Regions from separate parts of the Homo sapiens genome. Here all the other regions are linked to region 4. The links are contacts of gene promoters, found by promoter capture Hi-C in blood cells and fetal thymus (Javierre and others, 2016). All regions are on one chromosome and are shown on one strand. Each heading gives the region's core, a stretch centred on a gene start or on the middle of the fragment in contact. The rest is flanking DNA. Distances are from core to core; before and after follow the strand shown.

Evidence for each region. Contacts are between HindIII fragments. The CHiCAGO score rates a contact against its expected background, and 5 or more counts as called.
Region 1: a fragment that was not itself captured here is called in contact with the fragment with the promoter of HACD4 in region 4 in 1 of 17 cell types (neutrophils); the score reaches 5.2 in neutrophils.
Region 2: a fragment that was not itself captured here is called in contact with the fragment with the promoter of HACD4 in region 4 in 1 of 17 cell types (neutrophils); the score reaches 5.4 in neutrophils.
Region 3: a contact is called between a fragment that was not itself captured here and the fragment with the promoter of HACD4 in region 4, in 1 of 17 cell types (neutrophils). The highest score is 6.3, in neutrophils.

The regions. Positions count from the first base shown.
Region 1 is chr9:20,672,639-20,676,794 of GRCh38, reverse strand. It overlaps a transcript of FOCAD not described here. Among named protein-coding and RNA genes, the nearest start is that of FOCAD, 9.5 kb to the left of the region's middle. The HindIII fragment of the contact is 1,866 bases long and covers 717-2,582 here.
Region 2 is chr9:20,643,863-20,647,793 of GRCh38, reverse strand. No RefSeq gene overlaps it. Among named protein-coding and RNA genes, the nearest start is that of MLLT3, 23 kb to the right of the region's middle. The HindIII fragment of the contact is 4,029 bases long and covers 1-3,411 here.
Region 3 is chr9:20,690,771-20,694,651 of GRCh38, reverse strand. All of the region lies in intron 1 of FOCAD (focadhesin), which reads right to left. Among named protein-coding and RNA genes, the nearest start is that of FOCAD-AS1, 8.0 kb to the right of the region's middle. The HindIII fragment of the contact is 5,795 bases long and covers 1-3,881 here.
Region 4 is chr9:21,028,578-21,032,928 of GRCh38, reverse strand. HACD4 (3-hydroxyacyl-CoA dehydratase 4) reads left to right here and starts at 1,289. Exons shown (of 7, transcript NM_001010915.5): 1 at 1,289-1,376; 2 at 3,531-3,634. The coding sequence starts at 1,339. LOC105375989 (a long non-coding RNA gene) reads right to left here and starts at 1,287. Exons shown (of 3, transcript XR_007061435.1): 1 at 929-1,287; 2 at 278-457. RefSeq lists an enhancer at 950-1,510 and a silencer at 1,154-1,513. The HindIII fragment of the contact is 3,612 bases long and covers 908-4,351 here.

The DNA.
Region 1 (4,156 bases), core at 400-2,899, 360 kb after region 4:
GTATTCTTCCAATCCATGAACAGAGGATGTCTTTCCATTTATCTGTGTCTTCTTTAATAAATGGATTTTGATGTTTGAAAATTTCCTTTCCACTTGCATTGAAATCCAAAAATGCTATTGGAACTTTAGTTTGATTTTGGAAAATATATCTCCTGCAAATGTTTGTGGGAATGGAGCTCTTGCTTCTTTTTAAAACTTTGACAGCACAGGAACTATATTAAGCAGGTTGACATTACTTGTGATTGAAACAGCATTAGTTTTTGTTAAAATGACTTTACCATAATGTGAGTTTTGGACATATGCTCTGTTTGCCTTGTAATTTTATATTGAGAAACATGATGAAGTCTGCCACACAAGCTAATTTTCAAAGCCACTCATGTTCAATAACAGTAATTGAGGGAGGTTCTTCTCATTCCAGAAGTCTCAGGCCTGAGTTTTAAAAATTGCAACAAAACTTTACCGCTGCTAAGCCATAAAACTGCTGTGTGATAGGGCAAATCGGGATATTCAGCTTCTATTTTTGACAAAAGTTTGCAGAATTGATCATTAAGTCCACCAGAGTAAATGAAGTTCACCATTGGAACTTCTGGGTCAGAAACACACAATAGATTCAAACACTTTCTGCAAATTACCTGCTGATGAACAGCATAGTAAGTAACAATGGGCTTTAAGTCTCTCACATTTTCACAAGCTTTATTAATTTGTCCAACTAAGCTTTTTCTTCTCCATACACATTTTTATCACCATAAGTTATAAGGCATCTTAACAGATTCTACTTCAGGTTTTATTAATGTTTTCCCAACATCTTTGAAAATATATTTGCCCATAGTTGTTCTACGCAGACGATTCATAGAGGCTAATTCTTCAGTGACTTTAAACTCAGCGTTGACTCCTTGAATAAGCAACTGAGCACTATTGGTAATACCTGTCAACTCATCAAGAGCCAAGGAAAACCACTCAAAATCATCTACCTTGTTTTGTACATGACTATTGATGTTGCTCCCAGTGTCTTCAACTCTTCAAACAACAGATCTCACTGAAAGGTTAATCGTCTGAAACAAGTTTATTTTCTTGGGAAAAAATTTTTTCAGCTGCTGTGATCAAACATGATTTAATTAACTCATCATCAGTAAACAGCTTTCTTTGCTTGGCCAACAAAGAAGCCACTCAGAAAATTACTTTGGTTTCAACTCTTTTGTTATTTTTGTGAAGAAATTCTGCTGTGATGACGTTTTCCATTGTAAATTTTCACATTTTCTGACCATTGTCTCCCTGTGAGTTGGGAATATTGTGATGAATCTGGGAATATTGATGTATATTATCTTTTAGTACAGGTATAGTATCACTGCACAATAAACACATACTTTGTCATCCAATTTGATAACAAAATAATCCACAATCCACTGTGCCTTAAAAGCATGACACAAAAAGTTCACTTTTCTCTTCTTTTCTTGTTTTGACATGATGGCTATGCTCTGGTATATATTTTTATGTAAAAACTATTCTTAGCTTGAAAACATTCTAAAATTAGGTGATCATCCAGTTTTGACCCACAGACTATAGTTTGCCTACCCCTAACCTAAGCCAACCATGGCTCTCTTCTTCCCCTTTGCCAGATACTTTCCCAGACTTCCTTACAGCAAGTCATGGCCATGTGGTTCAGGGCTGGCCTATGAGACTTAGAGAACTAGATTTATAGAAGAAAAACTTTTTTAACCAGAAAAAGAGGGTCTTACAAGGAAGAAGTCAATTGCCCTTGACTGTGGCTCTTGCATTTTTGCAGAATATGTACCACAGAAGTAATTTGTTCTCTTGCTGCTTCCATAGGTATAGTTCTGCCCCAACTCTACCCCATCTCACCCTGGATTCTGAGACAACCTCTTATCCCAGGAACTTATTAAGTAGGTATTGGGGGGAAATTTTGAAGGAATCTATTCAATCAGGCTTCTTAAATTTCAGTCCTTATAACCATGGGGCAGAAGAAAAGCACAGCTATCATTTATTCAACAAATATTACTGAGTAAATAGTATCAGCTCAACGCCATGCTAAACACTGATTATACAGAGCAAAGTCAAATAAAATCATCATCGTCCTCCAGACATTCAAAGAACACATGGCCTACTTTCTCCAACTTAGCAGGCAAAGCTGACCAGTATCTTTTGATGCAACTTCATGAGAGTTGTTCCAAAGTGGCACCACAGCCTGGACTTCAAAGATGTGCTCTCAGCAAGGGTTGCTAGGGGTCTTAAAAAATTCTCTTCTGCTTACATTCTCTGTCAAGAATTAGGCCTTTGGAACATCTTTATAATATCCAGGCCTAATTGTCCAGTGGTGCGCTGACAGATGTTTAATTAGCAGCTCTTGGTGGAAAGAGATAGGGGAGAAGCTGATGTGTAGTGTTTGCCAACTTCCATGGTATAAATACAGTACTCCCACATGGTCAATTTCCATATGGAGTTGGGAAGAGGTGTACACTTACACATAATTGTATAATATTTCCACCATAGAGACAATAGCATAAATAACCTCAATAGCATAAATAATAATAAAATGTAGAAAAATAATTCAGAAGTAATAAGCTTAGAACATCTAATATATTTATTTCTAATACTAATATAAGATATTTAATTGTAAGTTGATATAATTTGCTTTTTAATAAGGACTGTGTTTAACAAGTAGTTTGCAAAGTTCCTGAAATTTAACAATTGGCTCTTGTGACAAACTGACTGCAACATACCACTACAGATAGACCCAGTGCCTCGCTTCTTATCCAAACTGGTAGCATAAGGTCTTGATTTAGCCTTTTTACCTTAAAGAACAATTGACAAATTTTCAACTAATTAAGAGTAAAGAGGAATGTAGAAAAACTTTTACAACTTGATAATTAAAAAACAATCTAATTAAAGAATTTTATTAATTAGGAGTCGGGCATGGTGGCTCACGCCTGTAATCCAAGCACTTGGAGAGGCCCAGGTGGGCAGATCGCTTGAGCTCAGGGGTTCAAGACCAGCCTCGGCAACATGGTGAGACACCACGTGTGGCACGCACGTGTAGTCCCAGCTACCTGGGAGGCTGAGGTGGGAGGACTGCTTGAGCCTGGGAGGCAGAGGTTGCAATGAGCCGAGATCACGCCATCACGCCACTGCACTCCAGCCTAGGTGACAGAGTGAGACCCTGTCTCAAAAAAATAATAATAATTAATTAAGTATAATTAAATAAAAATGTATAGATATTTCTTCAAAGTAGATATACAAGTAGCTAGTAAATAAATGAAAAGATGCTCAATATCATAACCCCCAGGAGAATGCAAATCAAAGCCACAGTTAGATACCACTACCAGGATAGTTATAATAAAAAAGACAATAAATGATGCCGATGCAGAGAAATTAGAACCCTTACACATTGTCGATGGAAATGTAAAAATGGTGCACTGTTATGGAAAAACAGTTCAACAGTTCCTCAAAGTGTTAAGCATAGAGTTCCGTATGACCTAGCAATTCCAATCCTATGTATATATCCTAGAGAAATTAAAACATAAACCCACATAAAAGCTTGTATTAAAATGTTCATAGCAGCATTATTTGTAATAGTCAAAAAATAGAAAAAACCAAGGGTAAAAACAAACAAGAGTAACTAGGCCTCCTCTTCCATTTCTGTCTATACTGGCCAAAATCTTCCCCAAAATACAATTTATCCCCCTACCATTCTGGAGTGGTTTTCAGACATTCATTGCCACTGCATACTCCAAGCAATGGGAATAAAATCTGAGTATCTTTACTGCTGGTACTGCTAAAAATGTCCATTGGCTTCCAAAATGAATACAAATTGATGCCTAATTATCAGTTTACTTCAATAAGTTATGTATTAGAAACTATTAGTTTATTTAAATAAAAGCAACTTGTAAATAGATTTAAATCCATGGAACTGAAGTTTGGTGAGTCCTGTTGGTGACCTAGATTGTTTAACCAGCTAAACAATAATATTTTAAGTAACATAAGTTTTTCCTGTGGTTCTTTGGTTATTTTTAAAAATAATTTATTTTTGGCCGGGCGCAGTGGCTCACGCCTGTAATCCTAACACTTTGAGAGGCCAAGGTGGGTGGATCACCCAAGGTCAGGATTTCAAGACCAGCCCGGCCAATGTGGCGAGACCCTG
Region 2 (3,931 bases), core at 148-2,647, 390 kb after region 4:
AATCACTCAGGATCTCTTAGAGAGAGAGGGTACCTTGTTTGGTCCAAATTGGTAATATATGGCTGTTTATGACTTATCAAATACTTTTTACATGTATCAATTATCTCACTGGATCCCCACCGTAATCCTGAGTTAGATACCCATTCCAGCATTTTTTTCTAATTATTATGCCTTGTTCTGGCTTCTATCAGATCATTAGAAATGAAGTACAAATAATGAGAAAACATTCTTCCTTTGAAAGCACAACAAAGTGTTCAAGAATAGCAGAGATTTAAAAATAAACTATTTTATAGGACACAGTTTCTAGAGTATTAACAATATGTTCAGTGTCTCCTGTGGCCAAGAGATAGTTCAACCCCCCATTTTTCCTTGTAGCTAAATCAGTGAGTTCCTTATTACTAGAGGCTGAGCCTAAACACGCAAAGTGAGAGCTGGCCTGGAGGAAGAGATTTGAGAATCATCCATGGGCAGGTTATAATTGAAGCCATAGGATTAGATGAGATAATCCAGAATAATGTACTCTAGAAGGAGAAGATAAATAAATCAAAGATGGAAGCCTGGATAAAACCAATAACAAGGGTGAGTAAAAGAAAAAAGGTTCTAAAAAAGGGAATAAAAATGAACAGCAGGAGTTAAAGAGAGGAAAAAACACAAGAAAATTCATTACTAAAACAAAAGGAGAAGGGAATTTCAAGAAGTTGTCAACAGCATCAAAGTCTTCAGAGACTAAAATAATTCCAAGAGTTGAAAAGTATTCATTGTAATTAGCAAAAAGGTGATCACAGGCAAATTTGACAGCAACAATGTCAGTGGATGCCGTGGCTATTGTCTGCCCGGAATGCCTTTCTCTTCTACATCTGGCAACAAATCCTGCTTCTCTGTCCACAGGAGCAGGCACATGATTCAGGTTGTGCTAATTATAGCATCACATCTTCCTGGCTGTAGAGATAGGCAGCATTCAATAGTAGGCATATGGCTGGGCACAGTGGCTCATGCCTGTAATCCCAGCCTTTAAGAGGCTGAAGTGGATGAATAACTTGAGGTCAGGAGTTCGAGATCAGCCTGACCAACATGGTAAAACCCCTTCTCTACTAAAAATACAAAAAATTTAGCTGGGTGTGATGGCGTGCACCTGTGGTCCCGGCTACTTGGGAGGCCAAGGCAGGAGAATCATTTGAACCTGGGAACTGGAGGTTGCAGTGAGCCGAGATCACACCACTGCACTCCAGCCTTGGAGACATAGTGAGACTCTGTCTCATTAAAAAAAAAAAAAAAAAAAAAAAAAGAAGGCGTATGACCCAAGCTAGACCAATCTGAACATTTGCATGGAATTTTTCTGTCTGCAACTAATGAGAAAACATCTTTTTTTCCTTCTGAATGATGGAAATATCAGAATGAAGTAAATATACAGAGATATGTAGAGATGAAACATGAGCAATGGAGAGAGAGAGCAGGCGCATGCACTCCTGTGAAAGAGAAATATCTGCCCCACCTTTTTTTGAATCTTAATTCTATTCACTTAATTCTATGAGCTTCCTTAATGTCCTTCAAATAATTTCCGCTACTTCCCCCCTCTTTTTTTTAGTAACAAAAGAATTAAGATTAATAGATAGAAGTCAGATTGTAATTGGCTTAGAAATGAATGATATAAATACTTCAGAATAACCATAACAAGAAATGGACAGGAACTATATAAGTAAAACTACAAAATTTTACTTAAGGTCATAAAAGAAGACTTGAATAAATGGGAAGTCCTCACACGTTCCTGGGTAGCAATGACTATTATAAAGATGTCAGTTCTTCTCAAATTAATTTATAGGTTTAATGCAACTCCAATCAAAATCCAAATAGGATACCTTTTGGAGCTTGAAACGGTGATTCTACAGTTGATTAGCTTAAAAAAAAATAGAAAAGAGTGAGGAAATTAAAAAAAAAAAAAGGAAAATTGGTGAGGGGAAGAGTGAACAGCTATTAAGCATTCTCCCAGCTAAAAGGATGCAATTGGAGTGGCTCTGTAGCTCTCTCTCCTTGTCAAAGAGATCCTTGCCTCTGGGCACAGGGTCCATGGATATTCTCCCTTTTTCTTAAAGTAACTTAAATAAGTTTTTCTTTCTTTTAACCAAAAGAGTCCTAATTCAAGAACTTGCCCCATCAGACATTAAAACAGCACATAAAACACAGTATTACTAGTGTAAATGTTTATGAGCATATCTTTGAAACAAAATAAATAGCCAGAAATATATACTATCTCTTACTTATAAAACTGATGTAAATAATAAAGTTGACATCACATTGCAATATGTAAAGGAAAAATCATTCAATACGTTGGTTAACTGTGAAAACTTAAGTTAAATTGTCAACTTGCAATATATACTAAAATAAATTCCAGATATTAAATGTGAAAAGTGTTCACTGTAAGACAAACCAATGACTACTAAAACATGTGCCTGAAATATGGCAAAAGTTTGCCAAAGTGCAGGTTAAAAAACTAGGAGTTTATTTAGGGAACTATTTACTTGTTCTTGAGCTGAAGGAATAATTGTCTAAGTATAAAATCAATGGCCTAAACCACAAAGGAATCAACATCGGATATTTGACTACATGAAAAATTCGAGTCTACACAACAGAAGCCATCAAAACATGAAAGGTAAATTATAAAGTAGAAAAATATTTCAATATATCTGACAAAAAGCATGTAGTAGTTTAAATCAATAATGAAAACACTGAAACTTCAATGGAAAAAAGTACAATGTGCAGACAAATCTCAGAAGCAGAAATATAAATACCAATAAATATGTGAAACAATTCACTTTTACTGCTATAATACAAAAAGTTAACAATTTCAATGATATATCATTTTATTCTACTAGAAAAGTTATGAAAATACAAAATTTAAGGCTGGTGAGGTTGTTTCAAAAATAAGCATGATCGTACACTCCTATTAAGAGTCTAAACCAGTATGTATTTTTTAGAAAGCAATTTGGCAACATATCAAGAACTTTGTAAAAGATCCATATTCTTTGACCCAGATTCCCATTCTAGAACCTTTAAAGGCATAAAATGTATCCCCTTTTCTCAGAAGTGTACATATGCAAGAAGCATAAAGCTGACAGCCAGAGGGAAAGAAGGCAGTAGGAAGAAAGAGGTGGCATTAAGATTCTGGTTGTAGTCACTGAAGGCCCTAAAACGGCCCTGGTTCTTCAGAATCTGTGAGCTATCTCAGAACCTTTCCAATAAATCCTCCCCTATGATCCCTTAGTCTCTGTCCCCTGCACAAAAAGATAATTGACTAACATAATGACCCTGGCCTGAAATGTGTATTCTTTCCTTTTGCTAGATTAACCTACTGTATAATTTTGGGTAAAAGGTGCTGATTGCTTTGATTCATTGCAGTTGGTTCTAGTCCAAGCTTAATTAGTTTGGAATTAAACTGGATCCAATACTAGCACCTTTTATAGTGTCTATTGAAATACAATATTAGAGCGATGAAATTCTTCTTGAATGAGAGGTGTTGGTGAGATTTTTAGCCAAGACAAAGTCATGTTTACTAGCTGGATTAGCCAGGGTTTCTAAAGGGACAGAACTACTAGGATATACGTATATATGAAGGGGAGTTTATTAGGAGAATTGACTCACACAATCGCAAGGCGAAGTCCCACAGTAGGCCATCTGCAAGCTGAGCAGCAAGGAAGCCAGTGCGAGTCCCCAAACCTCAGAAGTAGGGAAGCCGACAGTGCAGCCTTCAGTCTGTGGTTGAAGGCATGAGAGCCCCCAGCAAACCACCCATGTAAGTCCAAGAGTCCAAAAGTGAAGAACTTGGAGTCTGATGTTCAATGACAGGAAGCATCCAGCACGGGAGAAAGATGAAGACTGGAAGATTCAGCAAGTCTGCTGTTTACAACTTCTGCTTGGCGGCTGATTAGGTGGTGCC
Region 3 (3,881 bases), core at 715-3,214, 340 kb after region 4:
AAGACATTTTTAAAAATAAAAGAAAATTTTAAAAAAGTAACTAGAGATTGCAAGATTGCAATGTGAACTGTTAAAAAAAATTATTACCATTTTCAACTGCTAATCTGTGTGGATGGAAATTTCCTTGATGGTCTGCAACAAAACCAAAATACAAAATCACAATACAAAAATAAATTGGAGGCTGAGACATATAGAGAGTATCATTTTTATTCATAATCATTCATTTCAATATTACACTCCTTATAATAGCTTCATGGTTCAGATTGACTTTATAATAAGAGTATGCTATAAATTCAAATGTAAAATAGCTTTATTTTGAATAATAAAACCTTTATTTTGAATAATAAAACACTTCTCTTATCTGAAGTTCTCAGTAAGATATGTGGAGGTGGAGAGAGTCTAAGACCTTAGAAAAGGTTTGAAAATTTTCTGCCCTAGACTATTCCTTTCACCTGTTTCAGCTTTGCTTTGTACAAAAAATGTTATGATTTACAACTCAAAGTGAAGAGGTTGCTATTAAGTATCAAGAAAGGTATTGCATATAGTTAAGAGAACATGATAATCTTCTTGCAAAGAATAAATTAGAGTCTGGATGTGGAAGAATACTTGGTCTAGAAGACCTCTTTTAAAAAATGGATTGCAGCTGGGCACGGTGGCTCACACCTGCAATCCCAGCACTTTGAGAGGCCAAGGCAGGAAGATCACTTGAAGTCAAGAGTTCGAGACTGGCCTGGCCAACATGGTGAAGTGCCATCTGTACTAAAAATACAGAAATTAACCAGGCGTGGAAGCACGCACCTGTAATCCCATCTACTTGGGAGGCTGAGGCACGAGAATCACTTGAACCCAGGAGGCAGAGGTTGCAGTGAGCCAAGATTGTGCCACTGCACTTCAGCCTGGGCAACAGAGCAAGATTCCATCTAAATAAATAAATAAATAAATAAATAGTGATTGCAAAAGTACTTGCAAAGGAGACCAGGAATTTCCTCAGATAATGGTCCAGAGCTTTTCCATAAAGAATGGAAGAGATACCTAATCCTGAAAAAGGTTGCAGTACCTTTCATTCCTCCATTTAAGAAATATTTATGAGATGCCTACCTTGTATCAGACACTATACTAAGCACTGGGAAAACAGAGAAAAATCCCTGCCCTTATAGATTACATTCCTAGTAGAGGCAAGACAAGAATAAGCAAAATAGTAAATTACATAGCATTTCTGAAGATAAGTGCTATGGATAAAAGTAAACCAGAGTGGAGGATAGACAGTATTAGAGAGAGAGGTTTCTATTTTTAAAAGGATGGTCAGGGAAAGGCTGAGGAAGTACTCGAGTAGCCTGAAGGGGAGTAAAAGAGCAGTTTCGTCATCTCAGAAAAGAAGACTCTAGGCGGAAAGAGTAGCAGTGCCAATGCCATGGTGAAAGCATGCCTCAGATGTCTGAAGAACAGCAGAGGCTCATTTGAGCAGATTAAGTAAGAGAGAGAGAGTGGCTGTAAATGGAGTTGGAGAGGCAACAAATGGGTCAGATCATGGCAAGCCTCACAGGACAATCCCAAGACTGCCTTTTACTTTGGGTGGCAACGGGAAGCCACTGGAGAGTTTGGGGCAGAGAAGAGATCTAACTCACGTTTTTATAAAATCACTCTGGCTGCTGTTCTGACAATACTGTAAGGGGAAAGATAGAAGCAATCCATTAGAAGGCCAGGACAGTTTGCAAAAAATGGCCTCCAATTGCTCCCAATCTCTGTATACAAACTGCTTTACAAAGTGACTTTGCTGCACCCCCTCAGAAAAAAAAGTAGGCTAATTTTCTCTCCCCTTCATCTGGCTTGACCTGGTGACCTGCTCTCACCAACAGCAGGGAAAGTGAAGCTGTAGAAGTTCTAAGTCCCGGCCTCAAAAGGCCACATAGTTTCCTCTTGTTATCTTGCTTCCATTACACCACTACGTAAAGAAACATAAACATGAGATAGTTTACTGACCACGTAGAGCAGAGATAAGCCATCTCAGCTGAGGCCTCCAAACCTACCAGTGCCGATCACTACATGAGTGAGCACGGGCAAGACCAGCAAAAGAGCTGCCCCACATCTACCCCAAGTCCAACCTAAGCTGCCAACCACAGAATCACAAACTAATACATAACTGTTGGTTTAAGCCACAAAATGTTGGGAGTAGGTAACAATTGATAACTAATATAGAGGCTACTGCAAGATCCGGACATAAACAACGGGGGCTTAGACTAGGGTGATAGCAGTGGGTAGTGACAAGTACTTGGATTCTAAATACATTGTGAAGGTATAGCCAACACACTTTCCAAAGTAACAGTATATATATATAGATTGTGAGATAAAGAAGAGTCAAGGATGATACTCAGGTTTTTAGCCTATCTCATAAAAAGGATGGAGTTTCTGTTAACTGAAATAGGAAAGATTATAGGTAAAAAAGGAAATTTCAGAGTTTAGTTTGAAATATATATTAGTCATCCAAACAGAAAATGCTGAGTAGTCACTGGATATACGGAGTCAGGAGTTCAAGGGAAGGCGAGGCTGAAAATATAAATTTGGAAGCTAGTAGGGTATTACTAGTATTTAAAGCTAATACTTAGGCCAGGTGCCGTGGCTCACACCTGTAATCCCAGCACTTTGGGAGGCCAAGGCGGGTGGATCATTTTTCGAGATCAGCCTGGCCAACGTCTCTACTAAAAATAAAAAAATTAGCCTGGTGTGGTAGTGCGCACCTGTAGTCCCGGCTACTCAAGAGGCTGAAGCAGGAGAATCGCTTGAACCCGGGAGGCGGAGGTTGCAGTGAGCCGAGATCGTGCCAGTGCACTCCAGCCTGGGTGACAGAGGGAGACTCCATCTCAAAAAATAAATTGGCCGGGCTTGGTGGCTCATGCCTATAATCCCAGCACTTTGGGAGGCCGAAGTGGGCAGATCACGAGGTTAGGAAATCGAGACCATCCTGGCTAACATGGTGAAACCCGTCTCTACTAAAAATACAAAAAATTATCTGGGCATGGTGGCGGGCACCTGTAGTCCCAGCTACTCAGGAGGCTGAGGCAGGAGAATGGCGTGAACCCGGGAGGTGCGGCTTGCAGTGAGCCGAGATGACGCCACTGCACTCTAGCCTGGGGGACAGAGCGAGACTCCATCTCAAAAAATAATAATAAAATAAAATTAATTAATTAATAAATAATAATAATGCTAATATTTAAAGGCTGAATGATATGATCCAGAAGTATAAGGTCTAATGACTGACCCCTGAAGCACTCCAATGTTAACAGCACTCTTATCAGGGAGATAAGGAAGAACCAGTAAAGGAGTCTAAAAAGGGACAATGACGTAGGAGGAAAACCAGGAATTGTGGTATTTTTGCTAATAAGGGAAGAAAGTGCTTTAAGAAGCAGAGATTGGGCCAGCACTATGGCTCACACCTGTAATCCCAGCACTTTGGGAGGCCAAGGCAGGTGGATCACTTGAGGTCAGGAGTTCAAGACCAGTCTGGCCAACGTGGTGAAACCCCATCTCTACTAAAAATACAAAAATTAGCTGGGTGTGGTGGCACATGCCGGTAATCCCAGCTACTCAGGAGACTAAGGCAGAAGTATCACTTGAACCCAAGAGATGAAGGTTGCAGTGAGCCGAGGTCACGCCACTGCACTCCAGCCTGGTCGACAGAGTGAGACTCTGTCTCAAAAATAAAAATAAAGAAGCAGAGAGTGACTAGCTGTCTCAAAAAAAAAAAAAATGCTGACAGGTCAACTGAGAGGTAAAAATTTGGAACAGACCTTTAGATTTAGGAAAATGAAAGGGCCAGGCATGGTGCCTCCGCCTATAATCCCAGCACTCTGGGCCCAGGCAGGAGGATTGCTTGAGGCCAGAAG
Region 4 (4,351 bases), core at 40-2,539:
CCTCCGACTGAGGGCAGGGTATGAGAGAAGGTGCAGAGAAATGTAGAGGTGAGAGGTAGGCATAGTGAATGGAATGGACTATGAAAAAAGGAAGCCACGGCCTAATGGGAAACAAACAAGAAATCCCACCAACCTTGAAGTTCTGATACTGCCATTTTATCAATTGTGTGACCTGTGCCAAGTGACTTAACATTTTTTTAATGCCTCAACTTCCCTTTTGGTAAAAATGGGGGCGCTAACTTCCAACTCCAAAACCAGGTGCCATTGTCCCACTTACTTGCAAGTGCCTTCTTAGATGTTTCTGTTTTTGTTTTAACGTTTCCCTTTCTGGGCAGAGGAGCTTGAAGATGGGCTGGATCTTATTAGCAAAGCAGGAGGGTGGGTCATCTGTGTACGGAGACAGTGATGTCATAAGCCTGAGAGATCACGAAGGGGTTGTAGCAGTGCTGGGCATAGGCTAGAGAAATTAACACAACGTGAATAAAGATTTGCAGGCACCAGTGAGAACCCAAGGGAGATTAGAGAGCAGGGAGGCCTGATAGAAGAGGAATCAGGCCCCTAGCTGAAAAAGTGTTGGGGAGGTGTGCTACAAACTTCGTTTTATTTTTATTTATTTTTTGAGACAGGATCTCGCTCTGTTACCCAGGCTGGAGTGTAGCCGCGTGATCTTGGCTCATTGCAGCCTCGACCTCCCAGGCTCAAGCGATCCTCCCACCTCAGCCTCTGGAGTAGCTGGGACCACAGGCCCGCGTCACCATGCCCGACTAATTTTTGTACATTTAGTAGAGACGCGTTTTCGCTATGTTGCCCAGGCTGGTCTCGAACTCCTGGGCTCAAAAGATCCTCCCGCCTCGGCCTCCCAAAGTGCTGGGATTATAGGCATTAGCCACTGCGCCCGGCACAAGCTTCGTGTCTGAACCTGGCTCACCGGTGGGCATTGAGCAGAGCCCACCCTGGAATCCACTCATCTCGGGAGGTTTGGGGATGGGCTTCAGCGAGTTCGGAGGCCCCGGAAATCGCCCAGATGCATTAATTTCCAGAAGGCTTGCAAGGGGGTCTCAACACAAAGATTAGGAAGCTGTAACCAGAGTTTGGTAACCCCACCGGGAACGCGAGCCGCCTCCCAGCCTTGCGCCCTGACGCGCTCTAGCAGTGCTGCAGAAACTTCGAGAACTTCGTTTTCATCTCTTCCCCAACGCACGACCTCGGGCTTTTTCTTTTTGTAAACTGCTGAGTGTGGAGAGGCCCCGCCCTTCCGCGCCCAGCCGCGGGGCCGCCCCTGCCTCCTCCCCGGTACTCCTTCCTGGACCGCGCTGGAAGCCCTGGCGGCGGCGGCCCATGGGGCCCTTGGCGCTGCCCGCCTGGCTGCAGCCCAGGTAGGGCGCTCGGCCGAATCCCGAGGGGAGGGGGCGCGGGTGGAGGGCCTGGAGGCGGGAGCTCCCCTCTGCGGCGGGCGGGCGGGCGGCACCCCCCGCCCGCCAGCAAGGCGCAGCGCTACCGTGCCCAGGCACCCCTTGGAGCTCATGCAGGTATTTGCTAACTTACCCCTCTTGACCACCCTAGGAAGCAGGCTCTGTTATTTTCTCCATTTTACAGTTGAATGGGAAGGACAGGCTGCATGGCTACCCCTGCCCTTGTGAGCCCTCTGCCAGTACTTCCCTCCCCCCAGGAGCCTTCTCTTGACTTTCTCAGACGCAGAGTTGCGGGGTGATTTTTAGATGTAACAGCCGTGGAAACACCTATCACACGTATAGATTTCAGGGCCTAGTTCCGGCGGGGAACAGATTCAGTCATATAGCGGTAGGGCCTGGGGGTGTATATGTTTAACCCACAAGCCAGGTAATTCTGATACAAGCTGAAGGAGGATTTCCTCTTCCCAAACCCTTTAGCAGTTCCTGCCTTTATAGGGGAGGATGTCCCCAAATAAAAATCATTCTGCCTCCCAGCTTATTTTCCTTGTTTCTAGGAGGTTTCACATCTTCAAGGAGGAGTAAATCTTGACCACACTGGCAGGGCCACTCCCGTCACTCTTCTGAACTCCCAGGGAACATTTCAAACAGTGCTTTTCCTAACTCCCTCAAACCATCTATCTGTCAATCTTCTCTTAGTCATCTCCCCAGCAACTCACAACACATTGTTAAACCCAGCTTGACTTCCCTCTTCTGGTATGAGCAACTAAACTGCTTTCGATATGTATCTGATGAAGGAAACTATCTACCCTTGCAAAATGTTAATAGGCAGTGGCAAGATGTTAATACTAACCTCAATCACATAATGTGTTCAAAAGTCAGGTGTGTCCAATTACTGAATTACCCAACATTTGGATTACTCCCATCCCTACCCCCCTTCAGAACTAAAACACTGTGTCTCAAGTTCTGCACTTAGCAAGCTGAGCTACTGGAACACATAGTGACATGTCAACCACTCTGCACACATGGATTTTTTGTTGTTGTTGTTGTTTTGTTTTTTATTTTTTATTTATTTTTGAGAACAGAGTTTTGATCTGTCGCCCAGGCTGGAGTGCAGTGGCGCTGTCTCGGTTCACTGCAGCCTCTACCTCCCAGGTTCAAGTGATTGTCCTGCCTCAGCCTCCTGAGCAGCTAGGTAGCTGGGATTACAGGCATACGTTACCACATCCGGCTTTTTTTTTTTTTTTTTTGTAAGTTGCCATGTTGGCCAGGCTGGTCTTGAACTTCTGGCCTCAAGTGATCCAACCCGCCTTGGCCTCCCAAAGTGCTGGGATTACATGCCTGAGCCACCGCGCCCAGCCTGTTTTGTTTTTTTAAAGAATATTCAAAGCCACCTTCGCAGTGGTTTCTTTTATTCCTTGGTGAGCAGCAAGGTTAGAACTTTATCAAAGATGAAAGCAGATTTTGAAAAAGCACTATATTTGGTTTTAAGCAAACTCACTATACAGATGGTCCATGACTCACAATTTTTTAAACTTTGTGATGGTGTGAAAATGATATGTATTCATTAGAAACCGTACTTCAAATTTTGGATTTTAATCTTTCCCCAGGCTAGCGATGTGCAGGTATGATATCCTTTCATGATGCTGGGCCGCGGCATCAGGCCGCAGCTCCCAGTCGGCCGCATGATCAGGAAGGTAAACAACCGGTACTCCACAGTGCACTGTGTTGCCAGATGATTCCACCCAACTGTAAGCTAATGTAGGTGTTCTGAGCAAGTTTAAGGTAGACTAGGCTAAGCTGTGATGTTCTGTAGATCAGTTGTATTACATGCATTTTCAACTTATGATATTTTCAGTTTATGATATTTTCAGCTGATGGGGTGTACCAGGACGTAACTTCATCATAAGTGAAGAAGCATCTGTATTTACTTTAGCGGGTAGTGTAGGTTATGGCTCCCTTCAAAATCTGATATGTACTTGGGGGTAACCAGATAAAAGACTGATATGAAACAGTTTTCTTTTGCTTTCTCAGGTTGGCCAGTACATTAAAGGGCATGTGTACAGTGATGAAAGGATGATTATAAAAGAAGTGTTTAATGGTATTTTCCTGTATTTATAGGTATAGGAAGAATGCGTATCTTTTCATCTATTACTTAATCCAGTTCTGTGGCCACTCTTGGATATTTACAAATATGACAGTCAGATTCTTTTCATTTGGAAAAGGTAAAACTCCGAAACAGTTTTTTTATTTTTAACTTTTAATCCTTGTTTTCACCTCATCCTGCTTATATTAAATTTCTACACACCTCAACCTTCTAATATCCTTCTCTAAAATTTGTATTTTTTAGCAACCATGTTTATTGCAAAACCTTCTTGGGGAAGGGGGAAGGTGGGATAAGTAAGGGAAAGGGATTTGGCTTCCCCCTGAGTTGGCAGTTTGCCTCAAAAAAGAGATGGATGGCACTGAGGTGGTATCATTTCATTGTTCCTTTTCCATTCTGTACCAAACCTTAGCAGATTTCTAGTGTTTTGAGGAAATCTCAGCATAACATTTTATGCAGAGAAATCAGGAATGAATCAAATTCTTCCAGTGTTTGTATTATTCCCCAGGTTTGAGGTAACTGGAGACTACTAGTAAGTGAAATACAAATTTTATATTCCCCAAGCCTCTATTTGGTCCCTTTAAGAAGTAATATGTAAATGACACACTTTGTAGAGGGCTAACCACTTATATAGGAGTCAGCATTAATGGTTTAAGTCATAAACTTCCTCTAGTTTCCTGAAAAGTAAAGTCACTGTTGGGTGACTAAATGACTATCAAAATAACATTCTCTTCATGTTCCATCCGCACGTGGGTAAGTGTCCTCACAGTTTACAACTGTTGAGTGACTTGACAATCTAAGCAACTGCTGGCTTCAGCTAAAAACAAATGTTTAGAAT